4 separate regions of the Homo sapiens genome follow, and regions 1, 2 and 3 are each linked to region 4. The links are contacts of gene promoters, found by promoter capture Hi-C in blood cells and fetal thymus (Javierre and others, 2016). All regions are on one chromosome and are shown on one strand. Each heading gives the region's core, a stretch centred on a gene start or on the middle of the fragment in contact. The rest is flanking DNA. Distances are from core to core; before and after follow the strand shown. Region 1 has its middle 240 kb from the start of ZPLD1. Region 2 has its middle 230 kb from the start of RDUR. Region 3 has its middle 170 kb from the start of RDUR. Region 4 holds the start of RPL24 (ribosomal protein L24).

Region 1 (5,335 bases), core at 3-2,502, 510 kb after region 4:
TATTTAAAGCATAATTATTTCTTTTCTAATATCACTTGCTGACTTCTTGTAAAGTCTGGAGGGCTAAGCTTCCCCTAGACTATTATTTTCACTTCTGTGCTGCTTCTACCTGCTTTGGACTTTCAGATCTTGCCTCTGGTGTCCTCTCTGCTCTATACTTGATGGCTGAACTCTGCTTCCGGAGTCTGCTTTTTGGTGCTCTCCAAAGACTGAACAATTACACAGCTCTTGCTCTTCCTGCTTCAGGCTGCTTCAGAAATGTACTCCACCCATCCCACTTGACCCCTGGGACACAGATTCCAGCATAAGAATGTGCCTGTGCCAGCCTGTCCCAGGAGGCAGGTGCACTGCTCTTAGGAGTTATATGATGAAAATATGTATGTTTCTGTGGAAGTATTGCTCATTAGCAAATCAAAGCCCCAGCAAAATTGGTTACTGTAGGAGATAATGTTCCCACAAAATCACTTCCCACTTTTCCATGCTGAGTCACGTCCTGGTTTCATTTTCTCAAGCAGGTAACAACTCCTGTCAATGACACAGAAAATTTTTTTCTTAAATCACTGATTGGAGAGTTTTATACACTTGAAGACAAGTTACGTTTTAAAGCTCAGTCATGGGAGAAGAAGGAAGCCAGGAGTTGATGGGAATAAACGTTTCCACTCACCTCAAACCTTCACAGCACTGCCACTGGTTCATGTGACTTTGGATGAATGCCCAGGCTTTCATTCTGTCATGTGTAAAAGGGAATTGTGATGCCAACCTTACCTGTTGTGAGAAACCCACGTGTTAATGGTTCAAAGGGCTATTAGAGCTGATTGTCCTTAGTAAACCTTCTTCAATTCGACCTCATTTTACTCCCAGAAAGTATCTCACCTTTTTCCTGACAGAGAAGCTCATCCTATGAAAGGGAAATGTTTAAGAAAATATAACCATTTAGTATGAATTGTAATCTCCAACTCAAAATGTTTCTTTACTGTTAGCCTTCCTCTGCTCTTGTGTGATGCTTAGGCCAGCCTGCTGCTACCTTGTCTCGGATTCTGGGAGGTATAATATTTTTGAAAGACTATCCTATGGTTTTTTTTTTTTCCCCATGGCACTTTCTCCTCTTTGTCTCTTACTTGCCTCCATATAAATAACTAGCCCATATGTATTGCCTCAGGAGAGGGAAAAAGCTTTGTTGGGGCTTTTGTTTCTTCATGAGGGCTTAGAACAGGAGTGAGACCAAGACAGAAGCGGCTTGGAAACTAGGGAGGAAAACTTTTCACCCATGGCCTCCCCCACCAGGAAGGATTCCTTGGGCTATCAGAATAAGAAATAAATGAGAAAAGGCAAGGAAGCTTGGGGGGGTTCCTGGAAAAGGTCCTGTGCCAAGCTGGAGGCTTTGACAATAGCTCTAGATAGCTTGGGGGATCTGAGAGGAGAGACAGCCTATACCTCATTTCTCTTCAGAGCAGCTGGTGAGAGAAGGGAAAACAGCTCTGCCATGTGGCTCTAACCAGATGGGATGTTAGACGGCTCCTAGAGTTTCTCACACCGTATTATCATGAGGGAGCAGCAAATGACATCTTTGCAACCAAGAATGGTGGAGAAGGAGTTCCTGAAGGGACCGTGCAGGTGGAAACCAAGGACATTTTTTCAGGTGCCCAGATGGACCAGCCACTGAGGAGGATGTGTGATCTGAGATGGGACAGTAGATGCCAGTGTGAGATGACTCTGAGGTTCAAATGCAAGTGTTCCTTCAATTGCCCACTCCCATCACACACATGTGCACACACACACTAGCCACACACAGGCATGTCAACCACACACACCTTAGTACTAAGTAAGATTGAAGAATTTAGATGAAAATAAAACTTGGAGAGAATTAGGTTACATTTCTACTACCTCAGTGGAATAGGGACTCGAGAAAGAGATTGGTTTCTGAAACAAATAAAGCTGTATTTCTCACATATCAGAATTTGTAGACTAAGATGCTTCCTACACTTGATTAACTGTTTTTTCTTCTTTTAATCTCTTCTCTTCTTTTTTTTTCTGCTGTTATCCATCTCTGTTACTTTCCATAGCCACTTCTTTCTTGACTTACATATGTGCGCAGGCCTTTTCTAACATTAATGCCAAAAAATAGTAAACCACATGTCCCCAGCCCTCCCTGATACCATCTGTTTGCAGCTCACTAGGACCAGCCTCATTATTTTCTTAACTCCTGTTTGTTTCAGTTGCTGTAAGAAGCCCCAGACTTCTTCTGGTCTCCCTTTATCTTCCGCACTTTTCATGTAATTCTGCACATGCTCGATTTTGTACCATGTCCAATCCCTCCCCAGCTCCTGAAATATTTCCATTGGACCCTCAGGAACTCATGGAACATCATAGCCAAACCTTTGTAGCATCAGCTGTTTGGATTCCTGTGCTGATCATTTGCCTGCTTGTTTTCAGGCCTGTTTCCCACTTTTCCTCTCCTCTGCTCTCTATTACAGGTGACAGAGCTTGGCAAAAGCTCTGTTGTCACCTGGCTGCCATCTAGGCTCAGAAAACAGAAAGCACTGGTGGGACATTAACGAGTGGTGGTAAAGGAGAAACAGGGTATTCCTCCCCATCCTCTCCACATCAGCCTCTCGCAGTGTCTTCTCTTTTGTTCTGGTTCCTTCTGGATGAACTTCCTCTTTGGTCCCAGCTTCCACCTGGTTCCAGGTCCTGCCAGGTGGCTGAGCTCCTGGGCATGGAACCATCTCCTCCTTCTCTGGGCTTTCCAGAAAAATCACTGACAGTGGCCTTCTACTCTTGTTAATCTCTGAGTTTCTTTACTGTACCTCATTGGGCTTCTCAGCTCTTCCAGTAACTTTTATTAACATAACCAACTCCTTGAGTAAAATAAACTATCTGATGTGGGTTCTTTTCTCCTGATTGGACCCTGACACAGTTTTGTTCACCTTCCTGCTCTGACCAAAACCAAGATCTTTTTTGAGGATCCTACTTCGCCTGTAGCCCTTTCCTTTGGTGACATTTTTTTTTCCTCTTGAAACTCTACTTCCACTGAGTCTAGATATGGGTTAGGTGTCCCTCCTTGTTTCTTACTACCATTTTCAGACTGTTCTTCTTCCATTCTACCCTAAGCTCTTCGAACTTTGAGTCTCACTTCATCATACTATACCTTCTACTGTCCTTCATCTCTGGTCCTTGGATTATTTGTTTCTGGATGAATTTAGCTACTGGCTCTTTGTTACACTCTTCAGTACTATTCCTGTCTCAATTCTTGGTGATTTCAACAAAAATCACAGCACAAATGATTCCTTCAACACTGCCTTTTCCATTTCTGGAACTCCCCTACAATGATGATATTGCTCTGTATTCTACCTCAACCACTCATTTCCCTGGTAATATCCTAGGCCTTATTATTCCCAATGACTGCAACCCCTTCATAATCTCAATTTTATATATGCTACTCTCTGATCTCTTTGTCTAGTGCCCTGCCCTACATTTCTAGCTCACTCTCTTTAGTACCTGAACTCCATCTATCCCTTAATCCCAGAATGGATTTCAGTGTGTTGGTTCTTCTACTTTTTCACTATTTATTATTCCTTATGTATTTATTTCTTTCTTTATCCAGATTAAATTCCATGTCAATTATTTCTCACTCCCATGCATACAGCCTCAAATACCTCAAGCCCCTCTCTTGCTTTATTATAACTTGACAGAACCTCAATCCTGATTAAAACCCATTTTCCATCTACTCTGCCCCTGAATCTGAGCAATTTCATACACCTGGGCAAAAACACAGCCACTGGGTCAGAAACCTGTCTATCAAGAGGCCGTTAGTGCTGACTGAGAAACAGACTACATTTTCTTAGTCATTCACTCGCCCTCTATTCCAGATGATTATTTTACGCCTTCTCCTCCAACCTCATGACAATCATGGAGGTGTGTCACTCAGATCTCCTGCTGAGAGTATCTGTGGGGCACAGGTGATGGACAGCCTCTAGCTGCTGCACAATCGGGTTCACTGTGGCATTCATAGTAAGACCATTCGTCCCCTGGACTTCTCCCAGCCAGTGACTGGTGGGAGTACTAGAACCAGGCCACTCCTATCAAACATGAGACTGCTTTAATGGGATTCTTTGCTTTGGGACACTTTATTGGCCTGGTGAGACATTCTCAGAATTGTACTTCAGTCTAAGTCTCTTTCTCCTTCCTCTCTTCTTTCAAAGCTGGAAGATTTGGATTGAAGTTTGAAGACTCTTTCCATGTCTCTTGCTTTCTCTCCCGTTATTATTCATGGATGTTTCCCCAATGAATCTCTTTTATATCTATTTGCATCTTGATACCTGCTTCTTGGAGGATCAGAACTAGTTTGGAACACTTGAATGCTGTCTCCTAATACTCCCTCTTCACTGAAGATTTTGTTTTTTAAATCAATAAGAAAATCGAAACCACAAAGTTCCCACACCTTATTTATTCAGCTATCAGGACATGTTTCCTTATATCGTGTCTTTTCACTTGTTACCATAGATGTCATATCCATTTTATTATCTACAGGACAACCTCTCCACTTGGGCACCAGATTCCATCCCAACTTTGATACTCAAGGAAATATTTCCAGTAATTTTTTTCTCTTGTGTACATCTCCTCTCTTTTCTATATCACTAATCCCCCCTCTCTGCTATGTCATTCCTGTCAGCAAAAAGCATGTTATTTTGTCACCCATCCTAAAAAATACTTTCTTGTTCCTACTTTTTCCTCTCCCTACTAGCACATTTTATCCTCCTTTTCACCTAAACTCCTGAAATGCATTTTTTTTGTAGTATTTCTATACTTACAGTTTCTCTCCTCCCAATCTTTTAAATACAACTCAATCTTGTTTTTACTTACTCTACCAAAACTGCTCTTGTTGAGGTTAGCAACAGCCTCTACATGCCTAAATTCAATGGCAATTTTAATGACCTATCCATAGTACTTGATACGGTTTATCACTCTTTCCTATTTCTTTCTTATTTATTAACATCTAGGATACTGTACTCTTTTGGTTTACCTTCTTTCTCATTACTTACTTCAGTCTCCTGCTGGTTTCTCATATGCTTCCTGGATTTTTTTTTTTTAGTGACAATGGAGTGCTCCAGAGCTCTCTGCATTCACTCACTTGGTGATCTCATTCAGACCCATGGATTATTTATCTAGCTACTGACAAATCACATCTCCAGCCTTGAACTTCCTTGAATTCCAGACTTATATATCCATCTGCCTACTTGTTATGTCTAGTTGAATACCTCATAGATATCAAACTTGGCATGTCCCAAGCCAAAACCCTCATCTTCTCCCACACCTATGCAAATGGACCACAAAC
Region 2 (5,338 bases), core at 76-2,575, 490 kb after region 4:
AATATGTAAATATTTTGCCATTTTTTTCATTTTATTTTTGAAAATAAAATCTTATAGAATTGAAGTCTCATTTGTATTATTTTTCATAGCTCATTCTGTCTGCTTCCCCACGGACAACCAATATTTTAAGATTGGTGAAGAGCCTCCCTGCTCATGTTTCTGTACACTTACTGTCCATATGTATCTTTATATAAAATACATTTACAGAAATTATTTTATGCTATATTATTTTGCAACATTTTAATATTTTCCAGATCTTTTTATATTGTAGATCTAATTTATTCATTCAAACTACCAGATTATGATTTTAAAGCTCTTAGTAGTTTTCTCTGTTGCTCTAAGGGTAGAGCCATAATTTATCTTTGGGTCAAGATTGTATTTTTCTTTTGGGCAAAACTCTAATGTCCCCTTCCAGTTATCCATAGGTAAATCCAAAATGCCATTCTATATTGCAAAAGTTAGGAATAAAGAAAAATTCAACTGTTCTATTATAGGAACTCTTGACTCTTGTGGGCAGAGTGGCATCCCTACACATTTTATGATTTCATGTTGATTAAGTAGGGGGAGCAATGAAAGGTAATGGTCCCTTTAGGATGCTTCTGTCTATGGGAAGTAACGTGTTGGCAGTAAGCATCAACATTAAGGAGGATGGAGATCAGTTGAGAGACTTCCAGTGAAGAGATATGACCAATTGTCTTTAGGAGGAGAAATAATTAATTCCATTTTAAGCTTTCTGTCTCTGACTCCCCATTTCCCTTTATAATGCCCCAGTCTTCAGTAAAGTATTACTGGACACTGTGGCCTGGACTTTGGAGAGCTGCAGCAGCAGAGATCTGTGGAGCAGCTGCCTGAATTGACAATGGATATCCAACAACCTACACAGAGTTGTGGAACATGTACATGCAATCATTGAAAACCTTAAAAACACCTGGAGAAGGAGCCCTAAAAAGACTGGATATGAATGTTGTGCAAGTAGAATGGGAGATTTTGATTATTGTATTTGGGGAGTAATGGGAAGAACATTGTAGACTTGTAACATACTTAATAAAAGGACAGAAAAATTGATTCACCCCAAAAGTACAAAACAACCATCTCCAAAATTATTCTCATCATTTAATTTCATTTGACAACTTCAGAATGCTTGACGCAATGCTTCAGTTACAGCAGGCATTTCTACAGTGGAATTTTCTGTACAATTATGAAATTAACAATGCTTCCCTCCCTTAATGAGTTCAAGTTCTGGGTAGAGGAAACACATCCATACTCAATAGACATTCATGGCCAACTGAAGATCCCAAATTGTCTTAAAATATATAGTTCAGTGGGAAGAAAGAAATGCTTAATTTCCAAGTATCCTTTAAATTGGAAAATAACATTTTTTTTTTTACTTAAATGAACTATAAGCACTTTGTTCTGAATTCTACAGGAATTGTTTTCTACTAATTAATCTTTAATGTATATGTTTAGTGCCTGTGTTCACATTTTTCAGGATGCTTCTGAGAGTCCTAGAGCCCTGTGAATTTATTACTAAGAAATAACCAAAACAGCCCTCAAAATAGTGGTTTTTATTTTTATTTTAAATCAAATAAAGTGCTCTTTATTAAATGATTTTTAGAATCATTAGTCTCCTTTTTCTTCAAATGTCCATGGTATTCATGTTAATTGAACCAGGTCACTCTTTCTCAATGTTTCTAAAAATTTTCCTCTTAGAGATGAGATGCATGTTTTTCTCAAATGATAGTATGATTTATACTTACAATTACTCACAGAAAATCTGGCTATAGACTCCATTGCCAGATTGTTTATTAATGAGTAGATTTTGAGAAAAGATATTTTATTACCATTTTTATGTCTTAGGGACCTCATCATTGAAGCTAAACTTCTAATCTTCCTTACAACATAAAGATAATTTTACTTATTGGAAGCTTATGTAACCTAAAATTTAGATTTTGACAACTGTCTTGCAGTTTATAAATATTATAATAAAGAAATCTATACCAGGATGGTTTAAACTCTTTAACTTATAAACAATAACTGTGAGAATTCTTGGTATGCTCTAGATGACATTCCAGTTGTTCTTTTATGTTTGTAGATGTAAGTCAAGGATCCCTAAGTTATTCTAAAGTCATGCCCATTGTTCTTTGAGTCTTGGCTTCTGATAATGTCTTGATTTGCTTGAAGTACAGTTGGTTTGTTTATTAACCTCCTTATTGTTAAGATGATTCAATTAAAAATGTCCCAGTCATTTGACAACTTAATCAAATAACTTCAGACAGAGATAACATTATTATGAAAATAACTCAGGGTAATTAAATGTAGAGGGACTGAGTAGCCCCTTCAGATAAAGTCATCGTGGGAGATCTCTGAATAGAGGACATTTCAGCTGGGATCTAAACGTCAAGCATGAGGTGGTCTCTCAAAGAAAAAATGGAAAGAAAAGCATTCCAGGAGGAAGGAAGCAGAAATATAAAGGCCATCAGGTAGGAATAAGCTTTGTTTGCTTGAGGAATGACAAGGAGGCCAGTGAGATGACTAAGGTGGGAGAAGTCGCCAATGCTATATGAAAAGTGGACACGGCCAGATTACACTCAGCCTTGCAAGCTGCGAGGATTATATTATATTATATTATATTATATTATATTATATTATATTATATTATATTATAATTTTAGAGACGGAGTCTCACTCTGTCGCCCAGGCTGGAGTGCAGCGGCGTGATCTCGGCTCACTGCAACCTCCACCTTCCAGGTTCAAGTGATTCTCCTGCCTCAGTCTCCCAAGTAGCTGGGACTACAGGTGCCTGCCACGATGCCCAGCTAATTTTTGTATCTTTAGTAGAGATGGGATTTCACCATGTTGGCAAGGATGGCCTCGATCTCTTGACCTCGTGATTCGCCCACCTCAGCCTCCCAAAGTGCTAGGATTACAATGTGAGCCACTGCGCCTGGCTGGAGTTCTGATTTTATAAGCATGGAATCACATGTCCAAGATATGGTCGAGTGAAAAAACCATGCTTCAAACAGTCTGAATAGAAAGATCCCCTTAATATAAAATTGTATATTCATTTCCATATGTGTCTGTAGGCACGGAGATACATTGGGGCATATGTTCAGAGAAATGCTAACATTGGAAACATCTGAGGGCTGAACTTCAGGTGACAATTATGTTCCTTTTGTATTTTTCTGTACTGTTTGAATTGTTTACCAAAACAACAAAGCCATATCAAATATGCATACATAAAAAATGAGCCACGGTCCTCTTTGACTAAGATTTAATGTTAAGACAATATTGACATTATTGTGGCTTCCAGACTCACACAAGATAGAAAAAAAATGGATTTATAAAGAAAAGTTTGTTGGATTTTATTAATAAATGTAACAGTAAAATAACCTATGCTTTTTGGGGGAGTTTTCAATGATTATGGAAGATACAAAAAGCACCAAAAAACCTAGAGTGCACAGAACATGAACAATCAAGAAAATTCCCTTATTATGTACCAAAATAGAATTCCCCACATATGATTGGTATTTCCCTCAACTTCTGGAAAGCAAAAAATGAATGGGAGGACATTAAGCTGACAGAAGGCAGAAGGTGGAAAAAGGGTAAATAGTATTCACGTTACACATTAATTCAATTACTCATTCCTTTGACAGAGATTTTAAAATAATCTAAATAAACAAGGGTTGCGTGCAAGAAGTCTATTTGAATTAGATTCTCATGGATGTAAAAACAAAACACGACCACAAAGGGAAGCAGGCAGGGCTGAAAGACAGCACAGAGGCTACTAGCTTCATAACAGAATAGTCAGACTTAGGGTTTCCATATTCTACCAAAAAATAAATGAGAAATCTTCTTTTTGCATCTACTTCTCCCATCAAAACCTTTCCATTGCTTTGTTTTATGTCACCTTGTTTTTACTTGTATATATTCACCTTTTGTTACATCCTCATATTTCTGTGGTATCTATGGAGTCCTGTTTCAGAGGATTCACTTGAACCAGCTTTGATTTGCATGTAACTACCTATTGCCATAGTTCCATGGAAAACCACTAGGAGAGTGTTATTATTCCAAAGCTGGATTACTTCCATAAATAATCTAATGAGAGCTTCATTTTTTTCTGCCTATGAAAGCCAGTTGAGTTCCATTCCATTTATGGAAAAAAGGCTTTTCTATTTCTATTCAATTAAGCAAATGGCTGTCTTTTGGCAAGGAAAGAAGAAAAGCATTAATCATTTCCAGTTCACCATATCAGGATGTTTACTCACAAAAGACAAAGATTCAATTATATCTTTCTTATTATGACCTCCAGGTATTTTTCTCAATGTGACAGTTCTATAACTCTTCAGAAGAGGTTATTTATGGATATATCCTACTTAGAAGAATAGAATGTGGGCAATAGCATAAGAACACTTTGGCATCACTTCAGATAACCTGATGCCTGCATTGGTCCATCATGACTGGAGGCATTCGTTTGTAATAATAAATAAAGTCTGATGGTAGTCCTTGAGGATGCCAGTTGCTTTTTACCCTTTCCCCAGTCACCATCCCTCTAAATGTAGTAGACTGTTGCTAGGATTGGATCTTATCTCTGGCCATATTGAAATCTACCCCCCAACTCTTCAAACTTAGCTCTCTTCTTCTATCATGTAGGATTGCACCTGACCTTTTGCCCACCTGGGTTTCATGGGCTTAGACTTCACTATTAATTCTTGCCCGAGTAGCTGCTGGAGTTGGCTTGGCAACCATTGCCAACTGAGTTCCCTCTTAGGCTCTGTCTCAGCAACAGTGTAAGTAGAACTGAGGCTGGTACCTAGACTATGGTGGGCTGATTCGTAGAGGCTGGTTTGGACTGAATGGAGAAGAGGTAAAACTGTGAGAAAGAGAGTGAAAAACATGAAAATCCATGAGTCAATATGTGAGTATGAAGAAGACAAAAGCCCATGTTTGTGAAGAGCTACACTGCTCACCAGTGACTTTCCACAAATACCTGTCCACCTCAGCATTGAGATGAGATAGAATTTTCTCATCCAATGCTGCAGGTGTTAGCTGAGTATGCCTTTTTCTTAGCCAGCTCTGACTACTAGTTAAAAATACTAAAAGGGGCTGTGTTATTTGAAATTATTGTTTAGCATTTCTATTTGCAGAGCCTATTTTAAGGAGGTTAAATCACTTTTTAATTTAACTAGTTAGGCTCCTATTGGATAGTGATGAGGTACCTTGACTACATTCTGGAACTAGGCATAATCTTCAGTAAACTGATATTAATGTATTTTCTTACTTTTAAATTCTTTTCATAAAAAGTTTCTTTATTTAAACACAAACAATGTAACAAAGCTTT
Region 3 (4,867 bases), core at 2,356-4,855, 420 kb after region 4:
TGTTGCTTCATTGATAGAGCACAGGCAGAGAAAATTAGCATAATTCTTAAAGGCCCTAGGATATTTCGGAATAGTAAATGAATCTTGGCTTCAAATTAAAGTCACCAGCTGCATTAGCTCCTAACAAGAGAGTCAGATTATTATTCTTTGAAACTTTGAAGCCAGGCATTTACTTCTGTTTAGCTATTAACAGCCTAGATGACATCTTCTTCCAATAGAAGGCTGTTTCATCTGCATTGAAAATCTGTTGTTTAGTGTAGCTACCTTTAGCAATGATTTTAGCTAGGTCTTCTGGATAACATGCTGCAGTTTTTCCACCAGCACTTGCTGCTTTACCTTGCACTTTTAAGTTAAGGAGACAACTTCTTTCCTTAAACCTCATGAACCAACCTCTGCTAGGTTCCAACTTTTCTTTTGTAGCTTCCTCACCTCTTTCTCAGCCTTCTTATAATTGAAGACAGTTAAGGCCTTACCCTGGATTAGGCTTTAGTTTAAGAGAATGTGGTGGCTGGTTTGATCTTGTATCCAGACCTCTAAAACTTTCTCCATATCAGCAATAGCACTCTTTTGCTTTCTTATCATTTGTGTGTTCATTAGAGTAGCATTATACATTTCCTTCAAGAACTTTTTATTTGCATTCACAACTTGGTTAACTGTTTGGCATAGGAGGCCTAGCTTTTGGCCAATCTCAGCTTTTGACACGCCTTTCTAACTAAGCTTAATCATTTCTATTAATAGCTTTTGATTTAAGTGAGGGATGTGAGACTCTTCCTTTCATTTGAATAGCTTAGAGGTCATTGCAGGGTTAATAATTGGCCTAATTTCCATATTATTGTATCTTAGGGTATAGGGAGGCCTGAGAAGATGGAAAGAAACAGAGAATCAGCTGGTTGGTGGACCAGTCAGAGCACACACATTTAATGAGTTCACCGTTTTATACAGGTGCAGTTTGTGGCACCCCAAAACAATAACAATAACAATTGTAAAATCAAAGATCACTGATCACAGATCACCATAAAAGATATAATAATAATAAAAACATTTGAAATATTGAGAGAATTACCAAAATGTGACACACAGACACAAAGTGAGCACATGCTGTTGGAAAGATGGTGCCAATAGACTTGCTCCACACTGGGTTGCCACAAACCTTCAATTTATAAAAAAACCCGCTATCTGCAGAGTAGAAAAAAGCAAAGTATAATAAATTAAGATATACCTGTATTTGTCTTTCTGTGCCTGGCTTATTTCACTTAATATAATGTCCTCTGATTTCATTCATGTTGTCACAAATGACAGGATTTTCTTCTGTTTTAAGGTTGACTAGTATTCCATTGTTTGTACCTCATTTTCTTCATCCATTCATCCCTTGATGGACACCTAGGTTGACTTCATGTCTTGGCTATTGTGAATAATGCTGCAATAAACATGGAAGTATGGCTGTCTCTTTGACATACTGATTTTATTTCCTTTACATATATACCTAGAAGTGGGATTGCTGGATCACAGGATAATTCTCTATTTAACTTTTTGAGGACGCTTCATACTGTTTTCCGTAGTGGCTGTACTAATTTACATTACCACTACAGCGTGCAAGTGTTCCCTTTCCTCCACATCCTCATCAACACTTATCTTTTGTCTTTTTGATAATAGCCATTCTAACAGGTATGAAGTGATATCTTATTGTGGTTTTAATTTGCATTTGTCTGATGGTTAGTGATGCTGAGCATTTTTTTCATATGCCTATTGGCCATTTGTGTGCCTTGTTTTGAGAAATATCTATTCAGATTCTTTTCTCATTTATTAAATGGTTTGTTTTCTTACTATTGAGTTTGTCTGAGTTTCTTATATATTTTGCATATTAACTCCCTATCGGATATATGGTTTGCAAGTAGCTTTTCCCATGACATAAATATTTTTGTACTTGAACTTAGCAAAAGTTAGACCAATATAAAAAGGCATTATTATTAAATGGGTACACAAATTTTACCACCACCATCTTGAGAAATATATAATGAGAAGATTTTAAGTGTTAATTTAAAATGTTTGTTTCTTAAGAATTACATGGTAATAATAATAGTAAGAATAATAGTAAGAATAGTAAGAATTACATGGCAATAATCATGATAATAACAACCATTTATTAAGTAATTGTAATTACTTTGCATTAGGTATTATATTAGGTACTTCATCAAGATTATTATTATTTTTTAAAGCTGGTATGAATATATTAATACCAAACAAAGTAGACTTTTAGGCAACAAGCATCCCTAGAGATAAAGAATAACACTTCATAATAATAACAGTTTCAATTTTCCAGGAAGATTTAACAATTCCAAATTTGCATTTATCAATTATACATCCTGATATGATATAAGAACAAATGGAGACAACTGCATGAAAAAATGGTTAAAGCCAAAACATAGTAAAAAAGTTCTAACATTCTTTTAAATAAAATAAGCTGGCAAAAAAATAAAAAATATATGGAAAATTTGAACTATAAAATTAACCAAGTGACCTGATGAACATATATAGAATACTATATTCAAAAACTGTAAAGTATACTTAATTTTAAAGACACGAATGATAAACATAAAATATAGAAAGAAAGCTAGAAATCAATATGAATATAACCTTACATTTTAAATCTTACAAGATTATTTTATTAATCCTCCAAACAATCATGTGAGGTTAATATGTTCATTAGGAGGGGACTAACATTTGGAGTGGTAAACACTTTGCAAGGATCTTATGGCTGGTAAGGTGATTAAGCTAGGATCTGAGGCGAAGTCTGACTCCAAACTGTGTTCTTCAGTTTTTTATCTGTTTCATTGTTTAATTTGTATTTTTGTTATTGCTAGCTACATTAAGCATTTTTCATTTATTTATTTCCTCTTGTAGAATTAACTGTTTGTGTTTTGCTAGTTTATTTATTGGAATATTGATGATTTTTCTCATCAGTTTGTATGATCTTATGTACTATAGATGGATACCCTCTGTGAATAATATTTGTTGAAAATATTGGTCTATTTCTCTTTTAGATTGTTTTTGTTATAAATATCGAATTCTTATATTACTATTTTTTCCTTCATAACTTTTTCTAATTAACTGAAGCCTCATTATTATTCTTCAAAAGAGCTGATATGCTTTTCTATCTAATCAAATTGAATACAATTATGCCTTGGTATCTGTGGGGGATTGGTTCCAGAACCCCATCTCCCTGCATATAGCAGAATCCCTGCATACTCAAGTCCCACAAGTCCCGCAGTTGACCTGAGAAATCTGCTTATAGGAAAAGCTGGTCTTCCATATCCATGAGTTTCCCATTCCGTGAATACCGTATTTTTGATCTGCCTTTGGTTGTGGATGTGGAACCCGTGGATACGCAGGGCTGACTTTATTTATTTATTTACTTAGTTAGTTAGTTAGTTAGTTAGTTATTTAGTTTTTGAGACAGAGTCTTGCTCTGTCACCCAGGCTGGAGTGCAGTGGCGTGATCTTGGCTCACTGCAACCTCTGCCTCCCAGGTTTAAGCAATTCTCTGCCTCAGCCTCCCGAGTAGCTGGGATTACAGACATGTGCCACCACACCCGGCTAATTTTTGTATTTTTAGTAGAGACGGGGTTTCACCATCTTGACCAGGTTGGTCTTGAACCCCTGACCTCGTGATCCACCCAGCTCGGTGTCCCAAAGTGCTGGGATTATAGGTGTGAGCCACTGGGCCCGGCCAAGGCTGACTATATTTATTTTAAAAGTTCTGTGGATTTTCTTCTTTCTCTGCTACCCTTGATATGGTAAGATCAAGCCCTCCTCTTCCTCCTCCTCAGCCTACTCAATATGAAGATCATGATGACGAAGATCTTCATGAGGATCCACTTCCACCTAATACCTAATAAACATATTTTCTCTTCCTCATGATTTTCTTCATATCTTTTTAAAAGAGATGGGGGTTCCCACTATGTTGCCCAGGCTGGTCTTGAACTCCTAGGCTCAAGTGATCCTCCCATCTTGGCCTCCTAAAGTGCTGGGATTACAGGTGTGAGCTACCACACCCTGCATCTGATTTTCTTTTTCTTTTTTAAAAATTAAAAATAAGAATCATGATTTTCTTAATAACATTTTTTTCTAGCTTACTTTATTGTAAGAGTCCAGTATATAATACACATTACATACAAAATATGTGTTAATCAACTGTTTATAGTATTAATAAGGCTTCTGGTCAACAGTAGGTTATTAGTAGTTAAGTTTTCAGGGAGTCAAAAGTCATATGTGAATTTTCAACTGTGGGGGTGGGGTGGGGAGTGGGGTAGGATTGGTGCCCCAACCCCTGCATTATTCAAAGGTCAACTCTGTGTTGTATATACACACTATATATATATAATATATATATTCAATATATTCACTATACACACACACACACATCTTTTGCTATACTGGCTCTTTTGGAGGTAAAAAGAGAAAACCGATATAGTAGTATTCTAGCAAATGAATGCAGAAGTTGGGGTTGTGTGAGGGAAGAAATGAACATGTATAGAGTGTATGCTGTGTGTTTGGCATTTTACATATAAAGCATGACGTCTGTTTAGGAACCTTTCCTATTAACCCCCTCTTGTTACGGGAAGGGCCTAAAGTTAGGTGGTTGCAATTGAAGAAGGAAAAAATGGAAGCAGTAATACAAGCTCAGGTAACCTCTACATCTTTCCTTTTCTCTTTATGCCACATGTTAAGTGTTAAACCCTATATCAGATGCAAAATTTTGAAGAATCCCTAGTGATTTTGGATTTTACATAAAAACCATTATTTTCTGGCAAAAAAGTGCTACTTGAATAAATAATTCAGGTAAAAGCAGATTTATACTTTTGGAATA
Region 4 (5,502 bases), core at 1,252-3,751:
TGCAGTGGCACAATCCCAGCTCACTGCAACCCCCCACTTCCTGGGTTCAAGCTATTCTCCTGCCTCAGCCTCCCAAGTAGCTGGGACTACAGGCACCTGCCACCATGTCCGGCTAATTTTTTTTTGTATTTTTAGTAGAGACAGGGTTTCACTCTGTGGGCCAGGCTGTTCTTGAACTCCTGACCTGGTGATCCACTCGTTTTGGCCTCCCAAAGTGCTGGGATTACAGGCATGTAAGCCACCATGCCCAGCCTCATTTTAACTTTTTAAATTATAATTTAGCTATGCAGGATGGCTCGCGCCTGTAATGCCAGTACTTTGGGTGGCCAAGGCAGGAGGATTACTTGAGCCCAAGAATCTGAGACGAAATTGGGCAACATCGCAAAGATTTCTGTCTCCTCAAAATATATTTAAAAAATAGCTGGGCCATGGTGGCATGTGCCTGTGGACCACGGGGTAGGCGGAGGTGGGAGGATCACTTGAGCCCATAAGGTTGAGGTGGAGTGAGCTGTGATCCTGCCACTGCTCTCCAGCCTGAGCAACAGAGGACCTGTCTCCCCAAAAAAAAAAAAAAAAAAAAAAAAAAAAAAAAAAAAAGGTATAGTGGCCTTATGTACATTCATAGCGCTGTGTAGCTATCACCATTATCCATCTAAATAACTTTTTTTTTTTTTAAAGGTCTCCTATGTTGCCTCAAACAATCCTCCCACCTTGGCCTCCGGAGGAGCTAGAGTACAGCCGCTGCCACCAAGCCCGGATTTGCTATGACACTGATATACAAGTTATAGAGTCCCTGCTTTCAACTGTTTTAGGGTATAACTTAGAAGTGGAACTGCTGGGATAATTTTTATGTTTACCCTTTTGAGAAAACACCAAATGATTTTTCACAGCTGTTGCATATTTAGCAATGCACAAAGGTTCCAATTTCTCCCCATCCTCACCAACACCTGTAATTCCTGTTTTTTTTTTTCCTGAATAGTCACCCTAATAGGTGTGTCATATCCACTTTTAAGTTTCTCCTTCCTCTGAACTTTCAACATATTTTATGTCTGATGGCATTTATTTCTCACAATACCTAGAAAAGTCCTTCATCCAGAAGGTGTTCAGTAAGTATTCCCAAGCCTCCTGAATACTAGTCCTACCATGGCACTCAAACTTTTTCTCATGTATAACCCAGCTAAAAGGACACTTAACAAGGACCAGAAAAACCACTGTTTTTCTAGTGAATGAACTAGTGTATGGTGGACTGGTTCATGGTCCACTGGCTATGTTAGGACTAATCCTGTAAATATTGCAATCAAAACCAAATTATGGTAACTTCTCAATTTCCTCCCACTGGAAAACTAAGCCCTTCCACCCTGCCCTATAACGCAAAGGTGCTTAACGTAATTTATCTGACTTTAAAATTTCAACTCGGTATTGCTACTAGCCTAAAATATATAGAGACAGTTTATAATATCTTTTTCATTTTGCTGACGCTTTACAGTTTAAGAGCTCTTTCGCATACAGTCTGATTTAATTTTACAGAGCAGAAAACCAACGTTCAGAGAGCTTTGACAACTTAAGAGATAGCCCCCAACATCAAGGCGTATTCCACTTACCGACTGTCCCTTTTTGTGCTTCCTTCTGTAGAGGACAGTCCAGTTTATCTGCCGAGGATTCCTCTTGGAAAGGAAAGCCGACTCGCATTTCGCATTAAGAAACTGGAAAACCTAGAGTGACAAATGCAAAGGAATTACTATTTAACTATACAAAGTACAAGAGGCTGAGTAAGCTTGGAATCCTTAGAAGATCAATATGCTAGTTCTGGCTTATCATTTTACAAAACTGAGGCCCACAAGGACCAAAAGGCTGTCACATAACTGGCAGGTAACTGTGTCACACTATGAAGGTCCTTGCGTTTAGTCTTTTCTCGAGAGCAGGAAATCTAGGCTCATAGCAAAGGACAGGGTGGTGCGTCCTTCTGGGAAGCATTCTGCTCTTGTCCGTCCCAGGATTCCAAAGGGTACCTCCGTACCTCAGTTATTTCCCTTACACCGGGACATCAGTTACATAAACCCCTCCTGATGTCCGACCTGGCTCACAATAAATAATCAACACTGGTTCACTTAGAGGTTTCTGGTCCTAACGACCAGTCCACAGAGCGTCCACGAAGACTTCCAGAGGCCAGTGGTGATGTGGGGAATAAACCCGCCTAAACCGAATTAAACCAGCCTTTCCTCCTCGGAGTACAAGAAGGTAGGTGAAGCCGACGCGGCTTTTTACCTTCCCGTCGGTCCTGGCGTAGCGCCTCCCGTGTCCGGGGTAGATCTTGTACCCGCTAAAACTGCACAGCTCGACCCTGCAACAAAAAGTGAAAGTCCATCAGGGAGGGTGTCTACAGCCATGCCAGGGACGACAGAGAGGAGTTCTGCCCGAGGATGTAAGCGGATTGGGAACCACGGGTCGTGCTTACTTCATGGCGACAGCTCCACGGAAAGACAAAAGATGGCGAAAAGAAAGAGAGAATCATGGGAAGAGACCTTATAAGGTCGCTGCGGGGATGGGGGCCGGAAATCTCCTCCCCAATATCCTTCGATGCTCCTGGCCCTCCTTGATGACGTAATCATCGCGAGGCGAAAGATCTCGTTTTCCCTGACAGCTGACTTCCTCTGGCGCAATTCATCCAGAGGCGCTGGAGGGTTCTCGGGCCCAGAGGGCCTGCCAAAAAGGCAGTCAGACAGTTGGTTTATGAGTCATTCTGTCTCTGTCTCTCCTCTCTTTTTTTTTTTTGAGACGGAGTTTCGCTCTTGTTGCCCAGGCTGGAGTGCAGTGGCGCAATCTCGGCTCACCGTAACCTCCGCCTCCCAGGTTCAAGCGATTCTCCTGCCTCAGCCTCCCTAGTAGCTGGGATTACAGGCATGTGCCACCACGTCCGGCTAATTTTGTATTTTTCGTAGAGACGGGGTTTCTCCATGTTGGTCAGGCTGGTCTCGAACTCCTGACCTCAGGTGGTCCGCCCTCCTCGGCCTCCCAAAGTGTTGGGATTATAGGCGGGAGCCACTGCGCCCGGCCCATTCTGCCTCTCTTACTGCCAAGTATCCTAGAGCCATCTTCCGGCTGCAGGGAATGTGAACTGAAGAGAAAGGTGTCCTCTCTTCTCATAAAGAGACCCAAAGACGAATGCCCCGCAGGTAAAACCAGTCACATTTTGCCTTCCCTGTTGGCCCATTTCCTCAACCAAACAAATTAATAGTTTCACCATTTATAAGAAAGTAATGACAACCGAACCGTTTCTCAGGCTGTGCGAATCGAACAGTGCGCGTTGGCGCTTTGCATTAATTATAATTAACATTCTTTGAGCGCTTTCTCTGTGCCGGGAATTATGCCAAAGGCTTTTTAAACATGAGCTCATTCAGTTTCCAAAATTCCTATTAAGTACCTGCCTAAGAACTACAATTCGGAGTTGCTGCCTAGTGAAGTTGAGGGGGTCGGTGGAGCCCCGCTGGGAGGCCAAGGGCTCAATCTGTTGAGCCCTTCTATGATGCTACATATTTCATCGTATGACAAGGAGTGGCCAGAGGCAATTCTTGAATTCTGTGGGAGGTTGCAGTATATGACTAGGAAACAAATGTAATGACTGAGTTCTGCTTTCTATGTATGCAACTCACCCTAAAAACGTTTTGTAAGGTAGCTGGTTGAAGATATTTGGAATGTCTAACAAGTTGGCTGACTAATGTCATGAAAACTGTACAATTGTGTTGGAGCCAGTCTTTTTTTTTTTTTTTTTTCCTTGAGACGGAGTTTCGCTCTTTCATTCAGGCTGGAGTGAAGTGGCGCGGTCTCGGCTCACTGCAACCTCCGCCCTCTGGGTTCAAACGATTGATTCTCCTGCCTCAGCCTCCCGAGTAGCTGGGATTACAGGCGCCTGCCACCACGCTCGGCTAATTTTTGTATTTTTAGTAGAGATGGGGTTTCACCATGTTGTCCAGGCTGGTCCCAAACTCTTGACCTCAGGTGATCCACTCGTTCTCCCAAAGTGCTAGGATTACAGGCGTGAGCCACCGCGCCGGGCCTGGAACCAGTCTTAAGAATGATGTTAGGTGGCCAGTCATGGCGGCTCATGCCTGTAATTACGGCACTTTGGGAGGCCGAGGTGGGCGGATCACCTGAGGTTAGGAGTTCCAGCCCAGCCTGGTCAAAATGGTGAAACCCCTTCTCTACTAAAAATACAAAAATTAGCTGGGCGTGGTGGCGCACGCCTGTAATCCCAGCTCCTCGGGAGGCTGCGGGAGGAGAATCGCTTGAACCCGGGAGGCAGAGGTTGCATTTAGCCAAGATCGCGCCACTACACTCCAGCCTGGGCAAGAAGAGCAAAACTCCATATCAAAAAAAAAAAAAAAAAGGAGGCCGGGTGCAGCGGCTCACGTCTGTAATCCCGGCACTGTGGAATGCCGAGGCGGGCGGATCACGAGGTCAGGAGTTTGAGACCAGCCTGGGTAACACGATGAAACCCCGCCTCTACAAAAAAAAAAAAAAATTAGCCTGGTGTGGTGGTGCGCGCCTGTAGTCCCACCTACTCGGGAGGCTGAGGCAGGAAAATCGCTTGAACCCGGGAAGCGGAGGTTGCAGAGAGCCAAGATCGCACCACTGCACTCCAGCCTGGGCGACAGAGCGAGACTCCGTGTGAAAACAAACAAACAACAACAACAAAAAACCAAAACAAAACATCTTTCAGAAATAGTCCTGGCTTCTACAAGATCCAAGGCACAGCTGAGTTTAGGTAGCCGGTGGAACCAAGATCCACCTGAAGGAATGCAGTCCTTTTTTGTTCCACAGAACCTCAGAATTTATAGTCCCTTCCCAATATTTTAGAAAGATTTTGTTTTATTGTTCTTTAAAATTACGTTTGGCCTGACTGGTTCTGTGGAAGAAATGCAGGAAACTGGACCTTAGGGATTTTGGCTGTATTTCACTCTTTACTGGAGGGCCTTCTTGTCAGGGTTCCTTGTAACACACTCCCATAACAAACAAATTGTGCTCAAAATGCTCTTAGAATAGGGAGAAATTTTGCAGAGAGAGACCTCTAAATGAATTTATATTATACAGTGTCATAAAGTAGAGCTTCTGACACCATCCGTAAATTATTGCTGACTTTATCCATGCTTTTGCTTTTATCATAGGCAAAAGGTTCAGCTACACTCTATTCTCTTTTTATTCATTTATGGAGCAATACTGAACCAAACTTGGTGCCCTTTTCAGCCTCTGTCCCTGTGAGAACAGTGTGTTGCTTCCCTTCACAGTTTCGTCACCCATTTGTACATATTTCCCTGCTATATTAGTTTCCTGTAGTTGCTGTAACAAATTACTATGGACTTGGTAACAACACAGATACATATTTTCTCACAGTTCTGGAGGCAGTAAGTTCAAAATCAGTATCACTAGGCTGAAATCAAGGTATCTTTGTGCTCTCTGGATCAAGGATCTAAGGCAGAACGTGTTCCTTGCTCTTCCAATTTCCAC

Evidence for each region. The method cuts DNA at HindIII sites, captures the fragments that hold promoters and counts their contacts. A CHiCAGO score of 5 or more calls a contact.
Region 1: a contact is called between a fragment that was not itself captured here and the fragment with the promoter of RPL24 in region 4, in 1 of 17 cell types (naive B cells). The highest score is 5.2, in naive B cells.
Region 2: a fragment that was not itself captured here is called in contact with the fragment with the promoter of RPL24 in region 4 in 1 of 17 cell types (activated CD4 T cells); the score reaches 5.3 in activated CD4 T cells.
Region 3: a contact is called between a fragment that was not itself captured here and the fragment with the promoter of RPL24 in region 4, in 1 of 17 cell types (naive CD4 T cells). The highest score is 6.0, in naive CD4 T cells.

The regions. Positions count from the first base shown.
Region 1 is chr3:102,195,126-102,200,460 of GRCh38, forward strand. No RefSeq gene overlaps it. Among named protein-coding and RNA genes, the nearest start is that of ZPLD1, 240 kb to the right of the region's middle. RefSeq lists an enhancer at 1-779. The HindIII fragment of the contact is 165 bases long and covers 1,171-1,335 here.
Region 2 is chr3:102,170,894-102,176,231 of GRCh38, forward strand. No RefSeq gene overlaps it. Among named protein-coding and RNA genes, the nearest start is that of RDUR, 230 kb to the left of the region's middle. The HindIII fragment of the contact is 1,196 bases long and covers 728-1,923 here.
Region 3 is chr3:102,107,771-102,112,637 of GRCh38, forward strand. No RefSeq gene overlaps it. Among named protein-coding and RNA genes, the nearest start is that of RDUR, 170 kb to the left of the region's middle. The HindIII fragment of the contact is 5,780 bases long and covers 716-4,867 here.
Region 4 is chr3:101,684,217-101,689,718 of GRCh38, forward strand. It overlaps RPL24 (ribosomal protein L24), which reads right to left and starts at 2,502. Exons shown (of 6, transcript NM_000986.4): 1 at 2,456-2,502; 2 at 2,266-2,341; 3 at 1,602-1,712. The coding sequence starts at 2,460. LOC124906262 (endogenous retrovirus group K member 5 Gag polyprotein) reads left to right here. Exons shown (of 3, transcript XM_047449415.1): 2 at 679-3,173. The coding sequence starts at 3,163. RefSeq lists enhancers at 1,899-2,088, 2,079-3,278, 2,249-2,738, 2,749-2,798, 3,709-4,262 and 2 more. The HindIII fragment of the contact is 5,611 bases long and covers 1,773-5,502 here.